Regions from separate parts of the Homo sapiens genome. Here all the other regions are linked to region 2. Evidence: promoter capture Hi-C in human tissues and cell types (Jung and others, 2019). All regions are on one chromosome and are shown on one strand. The core of a region is centred on a gene start or on the middle of the fragment in contact, and the rest is flanking DNA. Distances in the headings are between cores, read along the strand shown.

Region 1 (2,821 bases), core at 318-2,817, 350 kb after region 2:
GCCCCCTCCATTACCCGACCTACCGCCCTTTTCCTCACCCCCCACCCCACTCCCCACCCCCTGGCTGTGACTGCTGTAAGATGGGGGTATAGAGGCTGGGCAATTCCCACCCCCTGTTGTATAGTTGGACTATGTTATAACGCACAAAAGAGAGCTGACCCCAGGGGGAGCCAGAGGGTGATGGGTTCCTTGCCTCCCTTTCCTTCCCCTTTCTGCCCAAGCTTGTGCTGCAGTTGAACCTCTTCCTGGGGGTGGGAGTAGGTAAGGGGTGGGTGAGGCCCCAAACCCCTCTCTGGTAGGGAACCGTGGGGATGAAGATGAAGCTTATATGCAGTTCTCTTCTAGGGGCTGTGGGCAAAGGGCATTTTGTAATTAATATTTTCAAGAATCAGATGTCTGGAGTGTAGGGGTGGGCTTGGTGGTGGTGGACGGGCGGGCCTGCTGGAGGGGGAGCTTGGTCGCTGTTGTGATTTTAGGTTTGTTTTTGTTTTGTTTTGAATTTGGGGGGTTGTGGATTGTTGGGGGTAGGGAGATTTTTTTTTTTTAAAGCTGCTTCCTCAACTGTTTCAAGCTGCAAATGTTTAAGAGAATAACAGCCCCCACTCCCACAGGAACCGCTGTAATTAAATCAGACAGTAGGAAGACTGGGCTGCTGCCCTCAAAGCCACAGCCCTTGGATGTTCCTTTTCCGAGAGCAGAAGGTCTAGGCTACAGGGAGGGGGAGATTGGCTCCCGTGAGTCAGGCTGTGTTTGGGGCTTGGGCCCTGGGATTGGGAAAAGGGGATGGGGCAGACTTTGTAAGCATATGCTAGGTATCCGATAGTCCTGTAGAATTTAGTGAAGAAACCTTATACAGTTTTTAATTTTTATATAAACTATAACTCAGACCCAAGCTACAAGGTTGGAATTTTGGTTGGTTTTTTTTTTAAGTACCCTGCCTGTATAATTGCATCAGAATCCCCCACCCCACCCCCCGCCCCCGTGTTTGTATTTTGGGTTGGTTTACACTCGCACATACTCAGTTTTCAGTTTTCCCCTTTACAGTCTTCTCCCCTCACCTCCAGGACCCTCCCCCTTTTTAAAAAATAAATCGCTGACAAGTGTGAATCCCGTGAAGACTTTATTTTGTGTTGTGTGTATCCTGTACAGCAAGGTTGGTCCTTCGTAACAACGGATGAAATGGTTCCCTTTTTTAAAGCGCCCTCTCTCCCTCCACCCTCAGCGCCCCTGTCCTTGGCATGTTTTGTATCAGCGATCATTCTGAACTGTACATATTTATGTTGCGAGAGGCAAAGGGCAAGTTTTGGATTTTGCTTCTTCCAAGTTTGTTTTTAAACGACAAATAAAAAAAGAACATTTTAAATACAAGCGGCTCCGTCCCATGACCCTCGCCGTCAGCCGGATCCGTGCGGTCCGCGAGGACCCGGGGGAGGGCGGTTACCGAGGCCCGCCACCGCCGGAAGGGTGGGTTCCTTGCCTTCCGCCCCAGTCTGGCGACTGCCATGACGTGGGCGGAAGTGGCGTCGCCGCACCGGATGTGGGGCGGGGCCTGCCCCAAGAGAGTTTCCTAAAGCGAGGAAACCAAGCCGGGCGCCTCTTGCAATGGAGACGGTGAGGAGTGCAGGAGGGCGGTCGGGGGCGCTGTGGAGCCTAAGACACCCCCCCAACCCTTAGGAGACCGGGAGGGCCGGGCAGGGGCTGGCGCTGGTGTCTAGCAAACAAAAAGCAGCCGGGTGTCTGCCCTATCCCGTGACCCTGTTCCTCCGCTTCTTCGTTGGGCGCATCTCCTGGAACTGGGCCGCGTCCCCGCCGCCTTTCCGTACGCGGTACCCTTAGCCCAAGCAGGCAGTGACTCCTGGCTCCCTCCTTGGGGCCCACGTATGCCGTGGCAATCTCGGGCCTCCTTTCCTATTGGCACCTCAAGCCCTTTTAGAGGTTTGAGAGCGCAGGGTTGTGAGCCGGCTTTGCTGGGTGAGGCACGGGGCGTCCAGAGGGATCTCCGCTTGCAGGTAGCTCCTGGACCTCGATGGTCTTTCTGTGATCCCTGCAATCCCCGGCAGGAGGACATCTGAAGATCTTTATACTGCGTCCAGTGAAGTCACATTCCCTTAATAAGACCGAGAATTGAGGTTTGCTTGAAAGAGGAAATCTTGCAGTGTTAGAGGCCGATGTGTCCCTGGACAATTTTAGGTCATGGCCCGCTCTGCGACTCTAAGCAGGGGTTTTGGCATAGCTCATTCTTGGCGAGCAGGCATTGACCAATTGTGGCAGGGCCCTGTCACCCTCCCACAGATGCTGCGGGTTGCCTGCTACATGTTTGCACCCACCCTCACTCTCAGGAGTCTTTTTCTAGCGCTCTGTAACCCCTCCCATACACTTCCCTCTCCACAGTTTTTAACCATGTGTCTTCTTTCAGGCAGAGTAACTCTTTCCATCTTGGTTTTTATCATCTGCTACTGTAGTTACGAAAGGACTGCAGGTTCACTTTGCTTTGGATTACATGCCCAGAGTAATTCTTTGCCACACCGTTTCTCTGCTCACAGAGAGGTTGTTTCTTTCAGGTTTTCAAAAAGAAAACCGACCAAAGTACTAAAATGATTCGCAGTTGGTCTCCCAGGCAAGGGAGCCAATTCTGACTAATCAGGATAATCTTAAACAAAAATAAGGAGTCTAATTCCATTAAATTTAAAATGACATGTCATATTCTACTTACTTGTAAATGTATTATGGTTTACAAAGCATTTTTATATAGATTTTCTAATTTAGCCTTTACACTTTATGTACTGGATTAGGCTCTGGGGTAGAAGTTAAAAAGAGGAAA
Region 2 (2,700 bases), core at 111-2,610:
TCCTGTCTCTAAAACATAAATAAATAACCAAGAACAACTGTCAAACATATTGAGAAAAGTGGAAGAGTCTGTAACAGGCAAGCTTCACTGTCATCCTCCAGAGTCTAGATGACTTCGTTGAAAGTGAAGATCCCAGAAAAGAAGGGATGGACATGCTATTTTCATGTTGCTGCAGATATACACTAAGCAACTGAGGAAGCTGAATTATATTCTACAGGTCATTTGGTAATATAATGAATGGACTGTACTTCCTAACAATTACATCCAAAAAATACAAGCTTTTCCTTCCAGTTTCCAATGAAAGCAGCAAGACTGAAATAATCAGTTACACACATGAGAAGCCAGGTATATCTGAAAGAGTGACTTTTAGTTCCCAGTTTTAATATGGTGACCCTACAATGGGAAACTGAAAGCAGCAATTTTTAGAATAGTATACACAAATTTTCTTCACTGCCATTATAAAGTGACTTTGTGTAAGTTACTTTTAGCCCTTCTGAGCCTCATCTGAAAAATAAGGATAATACTTACAACTAACAGATAAGGTAATAATGTACACTGAGTTCAGCGCCTGGAATACATAAATGCTCAACAAACGAAAATTCCCTCCTGTCTTAGCCTGATCGGCCTCCAGGGGCTATGCTCATGTTTTGGCCATAACCTGTGGCTCCTCCCTCAGGCCCCAGCTGTTTCCCTCAGTTCTAGTTGTTTCACTCCTGGTTTCTAAAAGGATCCTATCTATATTTAGAGGTAATGCTAGTACCAATTGTGGGCTCAAGGGCACCTGAGTACTGAGCAGTTTTCAATTGTTTTCCAGAGTTAATTGGTTTGGCTCCACAACTGGCTGTCTTGACTTCTACAAGTAAGAGTGCCACGTATGCACAGTACCTCAGCAGTATAAGACTAAACAGAAAACTAAGTGTGGTCGCAGGACAAATCCTAAGCAAAAAGATGTTTTTAGCCCTATTTATCAGGATCCCAGACCTTTGTTAAATCACAGGAGCAGTAAACCTTCAATGAACTCCACAGAGTAGGCTACAGCCTACTAACTTAATCTTCATCTAAATCACAGTTATCAGACCCAAGTTTCAACCAGTTCATGCTGCTTTACTATAACCAAGATGAGGGTGAAGCAGAAAGAGCAAACAGGTAGTGAAGATTTTAAAAAAGGCATCCGATACAGCTAGGTCTGAATAAAGCTTTGTTATTTACTAGCTCTGTGACCTTAGTAAATTATTTAACCTCTTAATTTACAAAATATGAAATAATTGTGAGGATTGAATGAGATAATACATACAAAAAAATCTTAGCACCTTGGCTAGCCCACTGAAAGAGGTCAATTAAAAAAGAGGCACATTAGGCTGCGGTGGCTCACGCCTGTAATCCCAACACTTTGGGAGGCCAAGTCAGATGGATCAAGAGGTCAAGAGTTCGAGACCAGCCTGGCCAAGATGGTGAAACCCCCGTCTCTACTAAAAATACAAAAATTAGCCAGGCGTGCTGGCGGGCACCTGTAATTCCAGCTACTTGGGAGGCTGGGGTCGCTTGAACCCGGGAGATGGAGGTTGCAGTGAGCCGAGATCACGCCACTGCACTCTAGCCTGGGCAACAGAGCAAGACTCCATCTCAAAAAAAAAAAAAAAAAAAAAAAGAGGCACATTGTCACTAATGAGAACACTGCACTCATTTCTTGCTTTGTTCAATTTTCATAACATCTAAGAAAAGTAACAATTTAAATCATTATTTTTGGACCTTTGTAAAGTAACCTAAATGCTACCATCCAAGACCTAGCTGAGAAATACAAACTGATTAATGTCCATAAATCTTAGATGAGTCAGCAAAACTTAATGCCCAACAAATAAAAGGCTTAACATGGACTACTTAGGAGCACACAATGGTCATTACAATTTCAAAATCGGCAATTTTCTATCTAGTACAATCACAAATTTGGTCTGGAAATCCAAATATTAAGGAAATGCAAACATCATAATCAATATTCCCAAATCACCTTAATTGAAACTGGAAGGTATGAGGCAGCCTATTTGAAGTTAACATCAAGAAATAATTTAAGGCAGAACCCCAACTCTCTCCCACAAACACAAAACCAGTAGCAGATGGCACAAGAACATTTCTCAGTGAGAAATTGCAATTCTAACAAAGTACAGGTAACTTAATTTTATCCATCACCTTTTGGTCAAACTGAAAACAAACAACCAAGCTTTTGGTTCTCTCCAAAACACTGAAATCTGCATTATCACTGACCTAACTTAAAGCAAGATATTTTTGGTGATCTGTCCTCTCCTGCTTCATTAACCGTAGGTAAATTAGGAACAGTAGCCTGCTAAACAGAGGGGAAGTAAATATCACAGGCATGTTTTATCAATAAAATGGACAAGCGATAATCAAATTATTTAAAGAACGGCTTGTACTCCTTAACAGAGGGACAAGCTTGAGAAAGATCCACTTTCTAAAAGAACCTAATCATTCTGGATGAATTATGAGAAAAATATCACTGTAGTCCAAAACTGACTGAATCTACCTTTCTGCTTTAATCCAAGTCCTAACCACATCTATTTTATGTCTCTGCGTCTGTTCGCCTGATTTTCCATTTCGTCTCCCCCTTCAATTCCAAGAACGCCCTTCTCTCCCTTATTTTCAAATCTCATTATTGCCCCCGAATGCTAAGGACCTCGCACAGCCACG
Region 3 (2,700 bases), core at 44-2,543, 460 kb before region 2:
CTCTTTTCATCAAACTACCTCTATGCTCAAGAACCCAAAATGACTTCTTTATCTTATGTCTTGTCACATCCATATCCTTATTCTGCTCTCCTCCATAAGAAACCTCCTCCATTAATTTCTCCCACTTCCCAACGTACCACGGTGATCTGCTCACGGTCCCACGCAGATAATTTGCTCTTTCCTATCTGAATCTCCTTGTGGCCTTTACCCTGCCTGGACCCTACTCAAGCTCTCTCTGCCCTTCAAATTCCGTATTTAAATAAACCTCCTTCAGAAAAGAACTCTTAATCCTAGCCAATCTGAGCACCCTAACTTGCCTTACTTTTTATGTTCCTTTATTGGACTAATATGATACTCTAAGCTGCATCCTTTGTATACTCGCAACAAAAGAAATTTTAATGAAGTAGGCGGAGACTGTACCTAGGGATTCCTTCGTATTTCCCTGCAGAACCCAGGTGAGAACCTACATTTCTGGGGCAGTCACTACAATGCAGGCTGTGAGGGTTATACGGTATTTAGGCAAGGGCAAATAGGTGTTTAATTAAGGACTAATGGGAATGATATTGAAGCTCTGAGGCTCTGCAGGGGCCTGGATGGGCTGTTTGCTTTTCCTCATCCTCACCGAGATAGCAAGTGGTTGAGAACAAGGTTGCATCCTTTTTCTGCCCAGCCTTCCCCGCAAACCAGTGAGGAAACGACCAGCACTGCCGTCTGATGAGAGGAGCCTGTTGCTGTAACTGTTTTCCAGATTACTGGGGGGACGACCCCATCCTGGAGAAGGAAGAGAGAGGCGGGAGCATTTAAGGCCAAAGAGGCACTCAAGCCTTTCCCCCATGGATTTACACCCAACACGTATGCAGAAAAGCAAATTACAAACACCGACGCTCACAACCACACATACACGTGCACGCCCAGCCCCACAGAAGCAAACGCGCATGCCTGTGGGCCCGCGCGCACCTACTTAGTTTTCTCTGTTCTAGACGCCCTCATTCCACCCCCGCTCGGCCCAGCCCGGCGTCCTCTACCCAGGCACGGCTGAGGTTTACCAAGCCCGGCCCGGCCTGGAGAAAGTGTTTCTATAAGGGGGAAGGGAGGTCCTTCCCACCAAAGCGGAAGCGGCGCGCGCCGGCCGGGCAGACTTAGCTCGCGTCCTGGGAACATCTGGAGGGGGCTGGGAGGGGCGCGCATCCAGGCTGAACGTGGATTGGCTGCTAGGGAGGAGGGAGGCGGGGTCAGGGCCAGGGGCGGGGCTCCCCGGCCCCTTTAAAGCCTTGACATCAGGAGGCGGCTCCGGCACCCCCCTTTCTCTGCCCCCCGCCCCCAAGCCGCGGCCATGGACCTGGCGGATCCGGCCTGCCCTGGCCCAGCTCAACACCTGATTTCGGTGAGTTCTGGGTCTACTTGGGATTGAAAGGGCGGCGAGTGCGGGGGGGCGATCTGTAGCTCCGGGCCGGGGGGAGTGGGGTGTGGAGGGTAAGGCTCTCGTGGCAGTACAGAGTCGGAGAGGGCGTCGCGGCTTCCTGCCCAAACCCTGCTGCCCGCCCCTCCGTCCCTCCCTCCAGCCGCACCCTCCTCGGGGGTCCGGCTGCGACTCTGTGCACCCCCACCCCACCCCCTCCCGCCCCCCGCGCCATCCTCGCGCACACTCCGTGGCCCCGGAAGGGAAACTTTCGGGAGTGGGGGATGTTCCGGGGGCCGGGCTCCCCTCCCTCTTTGAAAGCACTGACCTTGCCCCAGCTGCTCACCCCACCCAACCCGCATCCCACCGTCCGGGTGCCGCTTAGCGGTGCCGGGTTATTGCGGGGGGAGGGGCTCTCTCCCCAAAGCGCAGGCGCGGAGACGAGCCTGGGGCTCCCTTTCGCACTCCTTCCCATTCCCCGTGGCCTGGGGCGGTAGGGCCTGGGGAAGGCGGGGAGAGGCGGAAAGACCGGGTCTCCTAGAGAACAGCCCCTTCAAAGGCTTTGAGGGGCTGCGGGAAGGAGGAAGGACCTGGTGGGCTGCACGCTGAAGAGAAGCTAAGGGAGGGAGAAGGGTTGGTTGGGCAGGGAGCAGGGACAGGGCAGCGTCTGCAGAAAAGGCCCTCTGGGTGCTGGCTGCGGTGCCAGAAGAATGCAGAGAATTCATCTGTGCCCGACGCTTCCCTGGCTTAGCCCAACTAAGAAAGCGGCTGCCCGGATCCTAGCTCCCCTCTCCCTGTCCTGGGCCCAAGGTCCCGCGTTATCTCCAGTCCTGGCACGGCCCCAAGGGCACAGAGGGCCCTCACCTCCCACAGGCCTGGTTTTCCAGGCATCCCAGGGCTGGATCAGCTGAGTCCACTTAGTCTGTCCAGCTGCTACTTCTTAAAGGCCTGCCTTGCTGAGGAGCTGGGGGTCTTGGGCTAAGGAGTTCTCTGGCTGTAGAGGCAATCCCTCCCTCCCACTTCTCCGCGTCTGTCATGGGTCCTCCTTCTTAAGCACAATGGTCAGCCAGAGGAAGTGGCCCGGGCAGGGGTGGCCTGGGGAGCAGTAGAAAGAGTGTCAATGCCTTACCGTTTTGTGGTCAGTACTTTCGGGGAAAATGAACATAGCCCATTTGCCTTGTTGCAGACCCTCCCTTGCAGACATTACGCCATCTGGCTCTCTGAGACTCCTTGTGTGATAGGAAAATTCACTTCTCAAATTGGTCCCCCCATCTTCCTAAAAACAACCTGGGATTAGTGGG

What was found. The method cuts DNA at HindIII sites, captures the fragments that hold promoters and counts their contacts. A contact is called where the count stands out against the background at its distance.
Region 1: the fragment with the promoter of PRKAG1 here is called in contact with a fragment that was not itself captured in region 2 in 1 of the 25 tissues and cell types used here (dorsolateral prefrontal cortex).
Region 3: the fragment with the promoter of NCKAP5L here is called in contact with a fragment that was not itself captured in region 2 in 1 of the 25 tissues and cell types used here (dorsolateral prefrontal cortex).

Annotation. Positions count from the first base shown.
Region 1 is chr12:49,017,522-49,020,342 of GRCh38, reverse strand. PRKAG1 (protein kinase AMP-activated non-catalytic subunit gamma 1) reads left to right here and starts at 1,567. Exons shown (of 12, transcript NM_002733.5): 1 at 1,567-1,611. The coding sequence starts at 1,603. KMT2D (lysine methyltransferase 2D) reads left to right here. Exons shown (of 55, transcript NM_003482.4): 55 at 1-1,365. It overlaps DDN-AS1 (DDN and PRKAG1 antisense RNA 1), which reads right to left. Exons shown (of 2, transcript NR_147179.1): 2 at 1,103-2,107. RefSeq lists enhancers at 1,164-1,363, 1,936-2,526. The HindIII fragment of the contact is 13,264 bases long and covers 1-2,821 here.
Region 2 is chr12:49,367,979-49,370,678 of GRCh38, reverse strand. All of the region lies in intron 1 of SPATS2 (spermatogenesis associated serine rich 2), which reads right to left. Among named protein-coding and RNA genes, the nearest start is that of SPATS2, 1.9 kb to the right of the region's middle. RefSeq lists an enhancer at 702-841. The HindIII fragment of the contact is 3,639 bases long and covers 1-2,700 here.
Region 3 is chr12:49,827,006-49,829,705 of GRCh38, reverse strand. NCKAP5L (NCK associated protein 5 like) reads left to right here and starts at 1,293. Exons shown (of 13, transcript NM_001037806.4): 1 at 1,293-1,384. It overlaps BCDIN3D-AS1 (BCDIN3D antisense RNA 1), which reads right to left and starts at 1,163. Exons shown (of 3, transcript NR_027501.1): 1 at 962-1,163; 2 at 623-771. RefSeq lists enhancers at 262-840, 841-1,419, 1,835-1,884 and a silencer at 1,165-1,574. The HindIII fragment of the contact is 7,341 bases long and covers 1-2,700 here.